2 separate regions of the Homo sapiens genome follow, and region 2 is linked to region 1. The links are contacts of gene promoters, found by promoter capture Hi-C in blood cells and fetal thymus (Javierre and others, 2016). All regions are on one chromosome and are shown on one strand. The core of a region is centred on a gene start or on the middle of the fragment in contact, and the rest is flanking DNA. Distances in the headings are between cores, read along the strand shown. Region 1 holds the start of ABT1 (activator of basal transcription 1). Region 2 holds the start of TRS-CGA3-1 (tRNA-Ser (anticodon CGA) 3-1).

The links. The method cuts DNA at HindIII sites, captures the fragments that hold promoters and counts their contacts. A CHiCAGO score of 5 or more calls a contact.
Region 2: a contact is called between a fragment that was not itself captured here and the fragment with the promoter of ABT1 in region 1, in 1 of 17 cell types (total B cells). The highest score is 7.2, in total B cells.

Annotation. Positions count from the first base shown.
Region 1 is chr6:26,594,181-26,598,619 of GRCh38, reverse strand. ABT1 (activator of basal transcription 1) reads right to left here and starts at 1,667. Exons shown (of 3, transcript NM_013375.4): 1 at 1,397-1,667; 2 at 510-706; 3 at 1-355. The coding sequence starts at 1,637. TRY-GTA6-1 (tRNA-Tyr (anticodon GTA) 6-1) reads right to left here and starts at 3,746; the gene lies at 3,658-3,746. RefSeq lists enhancers at 1,379-1,818, 2,376-2,535, 2,636-2,785. The HindIII fragment of the contact is 8,276 bases long and covers 1-4,439 here.
Region 2 is chr6:27,671,803-27,676,149 of GRCh38, reverse strand. TRS-CGA3-1 (tRNA-Ser (anticodon CGA) 3-1) reads left to right here and starts at 3,619; the gene lies at 3,619-3,700. The HindIII fragment of the contact is 463 bases long and covers 1,803-2,265 here.

The sequences.
Region 1 (4,439 bases), core at 418-2,917:
CCTCCATGCTCTCTGAGGGTGGCGGGGCTCCAAAGATCCTGGCCAGGAGCCCTTTGTTGGAGCGGGCCTTGTCCTGGGCAGTTGCCAGGCGAGCCCGTTCACGTCCCCCTGGCCGTGCTGCTTTACGGGCCCTCAGTTCCTGCTCAGTAGGACGCTGGGCAAATGTCCAGGAGCCATCTGGGCGAGCAGGGTCCCCATCGGCCGCAAGAAAGCGTTGTCCCCGTTCCACACTTTGAAGATAGAAGTCGGTCTCACGCTTGGCTTGAGCAACCTCCGCTCTCAAGCGCTGCCTGCGCACCTGGCGCTCAAAGGCGAGGTGCTCGCTGAGGTGGGACCAGGTGAAACGGTGCAAGTACTGTGGGCAGAAAAGAAGAAAAGATCAGGATAGTGCAGATTAGGGAGAAAGATGAGACAAGGGGACAAGGCCAATGAGAGGCCATGGGGATACTTGGGCCAGAGTTGGGGAGAAGGGAGGGTGAGAGGTGTGGCAGAAAGATCTATCTTCTCACCTTGAGGTTCCAAAGATCATAACGGAAGGGGCTGCGCCTGCGGGCACCCATAGGCGTGTTGTGTAGACTGGCCGCCACGCGCTTGGCTATGCGCTTGTCACGGAACTCCACCCATCCCTCGGTGTAGTCCTTGGTGTAGGACCGCTTTTTTCCTCCGGCAGCTGCTGCTGCCTTCTTCTTGCGTCTCACGAACCGGTCTGCGCGCCAAAGACAAAGACCCGTCCAGGACGCCTATGCAGCACTCACTCAAAAGCACCTCCCACTGCCCGCAACGTTCTTCACATCTGCCAGTGGGAGTCCCACCTGAAGAGTTTTTGCCCAGGAGGAAGGGAACTGTAAATCGCACCCTTTCCTCTAGCTAACTCAATTCTTTCCTTAATTGTCCACTCCTTAATCTGGCCAGCCCTGAACGCTGCTTAAAACCGGCACAAGTCCTCAGCCTCAATGTAAAATTGAGGGTGGAAAGAAGAGGGGCGGTTGATCAAATAGTTTCTTGACCTAGGCAGCAATGCTAAAGAGTTATGTTCAGTTTTGTAGAAAAGCTGACGAGACTTTTACTCAGGTTGTATTCATGTAACAAACCAGTAAACAGGTCCGGAAAGAGAGGTGAACAGAGCCGGGATAAGAACACAAATAGTAACAATCCGAGAACTAAAGAACCACCAGACACACTGCGCTACCCACTCTCCCCATATCCCCTCCGCCCGCCCACCCCAGCATCCTCACAGACTGATTCACCAGCCAGGAGCCAAGCACCGCACTCCCCACCCCCAAAATCCAGCAACTCGTGCCTCAGCCTCGCGCAGCGAAGCAACAGGACATGCATGCTTGCACCCCGCCAGCGAGCGACAACCTCCTCCTGTCACCGTCAGGGCCTGCATACTTACCCTCAGCCTGAAAGAAGACGCGTCCGACCTCGCCATAGGCGCTGAGAAGGTTGCGGACGTGCAGGGGCCGGAAGCGCGGCGGGATATGGCCCAGGTACACAATACCTGGCACTACCCGTTTCTTGCTGCCACAGGCCGCTTCTTCGGATTCCTCCTGCTCCTCCTCCGCATCTAGTGTCTGTTCTGTCCCTTCCAGCGGCTCTTGCTCCGTTGCGGCCTTCTCCGATTCCTCTGCCTCCATGTTGACTGACACGAGCGGCACGACGGCCGTAAAGTGCCTTGCCAACTGACGCAAAACGCGTGCGACGGCCTGAGACGAGGGGGCGGGTCCAAGGTGGTGATGACAAATGAAAGGAAATGATTGGGCAATACAGTCGGGTCCAGGGGAAGGCCGAGGGGAGAGGGAGGAAGTGGTGTGTCAGGTCGGAAGCCTGATTCAGAGCGTGGAAGCGGGATGGGAAACTTGGGTTAGGCTCAGATTCCCGGTCAGATCTCCAACTCAGGACAGGCAGAACCAGAAAAGGCAGATCCCCAAATATAACCTACCCTATAGAACGCCTTGTCGAGACGCTAAAAGGCGGGTTGATGCCGGCTTTTTAGGGAATTTTGCAGAACAATTTTAGAGAAGTTTCTATGTGTTCTAGCGATCAAAATAGCATTTTATTCAAGGGCCCCGGGTGCGATTCCAGCTGAGGAATGACTCACCTTTTAAAGTTTATAAATTTCATTTAAAAATTTTGAGTTTTGAGGTTTTAACTATTTCTGGAAATTTACCTCGGAATTTTGAATATTTTAAAATTTAATTTTGAAAACAGTTCAACTTTGGAAATTTAATTAGATTTAATTTTTGAAAATTTAAGTTGTGAACTTTCAGTTTAATATTTTACATTTGATTTTGTGAATGTCTGAAAATTTAAATGTGTGACAATTATTTGAAGAATTTGTTTGGCATCTATTACACGTGTGTATTGATACATTATCCATATGCATACTTATGTTGCAAATACTTGTCAGAGGCGCACAAGCCTCCAATTCTGGCGACCCCCCGGCGGCGCGCTTATTTCTGCTCTCCCTGGGTCTGTCCTCAGATTCCCTATCAGATCACAAACCACTTTTCCTTCTATGACCTACGCAACCGCAGAACGGACCGGGCCACGGCGGTCCTGCTCCCACCAGGCGGCCTGCGGACCATCCCTAAGCCAAGCTCAGGGCAGTTTTCCCCGCGCGGGCTCGGGTCCTCAGTCTCTTATCGTCGCCCGAGGGCGCGACCAGCAGGGGGCGCCGTCCCCACCCTTGAGGCGTTTCAGTTCTTCCCATCGGCGCCAGCGACAAGCTGACTGCAAAGGACAGTGCTGGGAACCGCGTACAAGTAATCCGGTTAGCTTTCTGGAAGCAGCCCGGGGCGAGTTTGATGACTATCAACATAAATCCGTCCTTGCTGCGGCCTGACAAAATTTCCCATCTCGCTCCAAGAGCGCAGAGTAGCCCAGAGAATGGAAGCAGGGAGTAAATGTGTCCACTATTAAAATCAGAGATGACAGTTTTTGCCAGTCCCCAAGTATATTTCTAAAGTAACAGGGCCCTGCACTCTTTCATGGAGTGTCTAAAAGTCTAATAATAGACTTCTCGAATTCAAACACGCCTGTTTCATTAACTTTATTGAAGAGAACTTTCTGTCAGGTAGGTGTCCACTGCTCCTTTTTTGAAGAGGAGCGGGGTACGATGAGAGCGATAAACTCCGTCTACTGCTATTTAATTATAAACACTGACATCTTCAAAACACAGTACAGTTAATGAAATGAGAACACGTGTTGGGGTGGCTTTAAAAGATCTGGAGCTAGGGGAGGGGCATGATGGATGCAAGAGTGTCGGTAAGTTGTGCCAGTGTGGTGGCTAATGGTAGCTATTAGCTATTTTCTCTACTTTGTATATATTTGAAATTATCATTAATAAAATGTTTATTCACACCAAGTATCAATATAACAGGGGGTGCTAAAGGACCGTGAAACCGACAAAAAAAAAAAAATGAAGCCTTGGGGCAGCGTGTTCTTCCCGTTCCCCACATTCCTCATGATCCCTTCTCAACTTGGTGAAAATCGAGTCCCACTCAACTGTCTGTGAAGCAACCCTTGTTAGCAATTTTCAGGGTGGATTATTTTCCTTCTCTGAGCGTCTTACAAATTCCTGAATAAGCAAGCTGCACATGCGTTCTCCAAGTTTCCTTATTTCAGGCCCAGAAGAGACACTTTTAAAAATGGAACTCCTCCGAGCCGGATTCGAACCAGCGACCTAAGGATGACCACATTCAAACCCCTACAGTCCTCCGCTCTACCAGCTGAGCTATCGAAGGATGTCATTACCCTCGTTTTGGATTCTTTAGGATTTACCTATTGCTTTTGACTATCCTGTATTCTTGTTCATTTTGAAAATATAGGGAAACGTGAGGAAATTTTCTAGGATATTAGAAATGTTCCAAAATGTTCTAAAATGTTCTTATCTGAGTAGGGATACTGACTATACAAGTATATGAACAATTCTCTTGAACATTTAAAATTTGTGGGTTTTACTGTAAAAATGTTTCACATAGGTCCAAAAAAATAAAAAATAAACAAAACCACACCAATATTCCATGTCCTCCTCCCTTAGAATAGATAGGACCATTGCCCTTATTGCGCGTGTTGTCCAGCTGTCCTGTCCGCTTAGCACCTCCTCTCTCTATAGGAAGTAAATAATAAAGACAAGGTTATTTTAGACAACTGGGTTGAAGAGGGGGGACCTACCGCCTTGAAGCGAAGTTACTGCCCAGTTCATTTCGGAAACATTGAGATTCTCCTTTCTGAAGGGCAAGGAAAATTACACAATTTGTATAATTTGTAATTTGTGTTCGAGACACAAAACAGAAGTGCGTTGTGTGTGTACATATGTTTAGGAATTGAGCGGCTCATATGATATTGCACAATTGTAATGGGACAAGTAAATGAAACACAACACTTCTCTCTCCCCCTACAATTTAAAAAAGAAATATAGCATTCTATTTACAGGT
Region 2 (4,347 bases), core at 785-3,284, 1.1 Mb before region 1:
CATTCCAGCCTGGCAGACAGAGTGAGATTCTGTCAAAAAAAAAAAAAAAAAAAAACTGAGCCCTGAGATATCCTGGTACAAGGATGGAGGAGAGCAGGAGGAACCAGCAAAAGAGAAATTGAAGGAGAAAGACAATGAGTGGTGAAAAAATAGACAAATAGATCAATGACAAACAATAATGACAAATAGATCTAGAGAGACCAGAAATAGACCTGTACAAACATGGTAGTCAAGTAGTCAATCTTTGACAAAGAAGCAAAGGCAACACAATAGAGCAAAGATAGTCTTTTCAACAAATGGAAACAATTGAACAACTGAACTTCCACATGCAAAACAGTGAACCTAGACACAGACACACCCTTCACAAATATTAACTCAAAATGGATCATAGCTCTAAATATAAAATGCAAAACTGTTAAGCTAAAATATAACAGGAGAAAACCTAGATGACCATGGATATGGCAATGACATTTTATTTTATTTTATTACTCAATTAGAAAATGTTAATGAAGGATCAGGCCCAATATTAGCATAAACTACCTCAGTATCAATAAAAGATATTTTTAAAATCAGAAATAATTAAAGTGACACATACCTATTTTGTTTTTTTTATTAACTACATGGGCACCCATGAGAGGATTCTAATGATTCTAATAATCTTAGGATTGTCAGAAGTAACATATGGAAGAAGAAATAAGATAAAAGACCTACAAAAGGCCAGGCACAGTGGCTCACGCCTGCAATCTCAGCACTTTGGGAGGCCAAGGCGGGCGGATCACGAGTTCAGGAGATCGAGACCAACCTGGCTAACATGGTGAAACCCCGTCTCTACTAAAAATACAAAAAATTTGCTGGGCGAGGTGGCACGCGCCTGTAGTCCCAGCTACTCCGGAGGCTGAGGCAGGGGAATTGCTTGAACCCAGGAGGTGGAGGTTGCAGTGAGCTGAGATCTCGCCACTGCACTCCAGCCTGGGCAACAGAGCGAGAGACTCCGTTTCAAAAAAAAAAAAAAAAACCTAAGACAGTTGCTCATAAAGAAAGCAAGAAAGCAACAAAGCTAAGACTCCCACTCAGAGAGTGGGCAGTACTTCCTCTCGCTAGGGGCAGGTCAAAAGGAGGACTCCCACGGGAGCCTAGCTTGGGTCCCAGTTGGCAGAAAAATATAAACAGATGTTCTGTTGGGCGACTCGAATAATTCTTATTTTTATATACAATCTTTCAGAAAAGAACTATAATAATTATGATGTGATACTATTCTAGAGAATAACTAATTGATATTTTTACTTTATTAACCTTTTTTCTTGTGTGCATACAAACATGCACATATACACAGTTTTGGAGGAAAAGACAGTTATAGTTCATAGTTTACTATAAATGCTTATCATCCAACTCAATAGAAATTTTCTACAAATGCGTATCATACAATTCGAGAGAAATCTATGTGCTCCAGAATGTACAAAAGTTATGCAATGTTCCAAAGAGTGTCATTGTCACCTCTGGTTTTTTGTTTTCTTTAAAGACAAGGTTTCACTCTGTCATCCTAGTGCAGTGATGTGATTATGGCTCATTGCAACCTCTGACTCCCAGGCTCAAGCAATCCTTCCACATCAGCCTCCCAAGTAGCTGGGGCTACAGGCGTGTTCCACCACACATGACTAAGCAATCACATTTTAGATAAAACATCAAAGATATGTCCCATGAAAGAAGTAATAAACGTCATTAAAATTTAAAATTCTACTCTGCTAGAGATAATATCAGAAGAGTGAGAAGACACAGATTAAAGAAAATATTTGCAAAAAGCTTATGTAATGAACAACTTATTCAAAATATGCAAAGGACTCTTAAAACTAAACAGCAGGAACACAACCCAATAAAAAAATAGGCTAAAGACCCTAACAGATATTGCTAAAGAAGATATACAGATGGCCAATGAGCATAAGAAAAGATGCTCCACATTATATGTAAACAGACAGATGTATTATTGTTTTAATTGTATTATACCACTCACTACCCACCTATTAGAATGGCCAAAATCTGGAACACTGACCACACCTACACTGGTGAGGTTATGGAGCAACAGAAACTCTCATTCATTGTTGGTGGGAATGAAAAATGGTACAGCTACTTTGGAAGACAGTTTGGTGGTTTCTTACAACACTAGACATACTTTTATTATATGATCCAGCAATCACACCCCTTGGCAACTATGCAAAGGAGCTGAAAACATGTCTACACAAAACCTGCACATAAATGTTTATAGAAGCTTTATTCATAATTGCCAAAAGTTGGAAGTAACCAATATGTCTTTCAGTAGGTAAATGAATAAATATACTACGGTACCTCAGACAATGGAATATTATTCAGCCCTAAAAATAAATGAGTTATTAAAGCATGAAAAGACACGGAGGAATCTTAAATGCTTATTACTAAGTGGAAGACAACCAGGAAAATTGTTACCCTAAAGTCAATTGAAGAAAGTGTTGTAAGAAGGAGAATGTATTAATAGCTGCAGCTATCCCAAGTAAGGTGAGGACTGGGAAATGATTTTAGCCATGTGGAGATAATCGGCGACCTTGTCAAGGCATTATAGGATCACTGACAGTCCTTCAGAGGCTGGTAGGTGGATTAATGTGGTGATAGATGTGCGTGGAAGGTCTCTTCTGATTGTGAAGTAGGAAGTAAAGTCATCAATTGAACACAAGGATGGGAGAGGAGGTGTTGGAGCATTGGCATGAGAGATATGAAATAGTGACTTATTTTTTTTTTTTTTGAGACGGAGTCTCACTGTCTGTCACCCAGGCTGGAGGGCAGTGGCGCCATCTCAGCTCACTGCAACTCCGCCTCCCAGGTTCAAGTTATTCTCCTGCCTCAGCCTCCCGAGTAGCTGGGATTACAGGCGCGAGCCATCACATCTGGCTTTTTTTTTTTTTTTTTTTTAGTAGAGATGGGGTTTCGCCATGTTGGCCAGGCTGGTCTCGAACTCCTAACCTCAGGTGATCTCCCCCCCCGCCTCGGCCTCCAAAGTGCTAGGATTACAGGCTTGGACCACTGCATCCGGCTGAAACAGTGACTTAGAACAAGAGGATTGGGAGTGGACTAATCTAATCGCGTATGGTACAATTTGCCTGGTAGCCTTGAGCACCTACTTGACATTCATTGTCATGAATTTAAAGTGAGGTCTGTCAACTGATTGTTTTTCTTCCGCCATGTTTAGCTGCCCTGGTTGTGGCTTTGCCAAAGGAGTACAAAGTGAGAGAGGCAGGGAAATTGAGAGTGCAGCAAGAACGTGACTCTAACATGTGCTGGGTAAAGAGAGAAGAAAATTCATGAACTGGAGGGAGGAATAGGGAACAGACAACTGAGTCTCCGGGGATTTGTTCCAGCAACAAAAGCAGCCACTAAGCACCAAATAAGTTTCTGATGCATAGAGAGTCAGATAACAAGTAAAGATTAAGACACTATTATGTTTCCCAGGAACTTCTTATTGAAAGAGAGAGACAAATATATAAAAAGTGACAAATACAAACACGGAAGCATTAACCTGCCGTGGGAACATTAAAAAGCGAGAGAGTCAAAGAGCCTAACACGACTTCCTCTGAAACAAAAAGTGTCCTCGGAGCTGTGATGGCCGAGTGGTTAAGGTGTTGGACTCGAAATCCAATGGGGGTTCCCCGCGCAGGTTCAAATCCTGCTCACAGCGTCGCCATTTTCTGGTTAGATTTCCAATTTGCTACTTTCATCAGTTAGCTTTCATTAGTTCACTAGGATAGAAAGTTGTGAGTGCTATCGCTGTGGCTTTTACAGCGCGCGCACACTTGTGGAAATGTACATCAAGAAATATGTACATTTGAAGGCCGGGCGCGGTGGCTCACTTCTGCAATCCCCGCACTTGGGGAGGCCGAAACGGGCGGATCATTTGAGGTCAGGGGTTGGAGACCAGCCTGACCAACACGGTGAAACCCCGTCTCTACTAAAAATGCAGAAAAATTAGCCGGGCTTACTGGCGCACGCCTGTAGTCCCAGCTACTTGGGAGCCTGAGGCAGAAGAATCGCTTGAACCTGGGAGGCGAAGGTTGCAGTGAGCCGAGATCGCGCCACTGCACTCCAGCCTGGGAGACAGAGTGAGACTGTCTCAAAGAAAAAGAAGATACTAGTTGTCTTACATCTAATCATAATGGCAAATACAAGACAGGTGCAACGTTGAAAATATTAGGAATACAATTTCCCTTTTAGATTACTAGTATGACAGCTTTCTTAAAGCATTCTCAGGCAGCAATCTTTACTTTGTATTTGTCCTGATCTCACAGCTGGTGGGAGCCAAAAAAATTAGGATGATAACAATCCGTC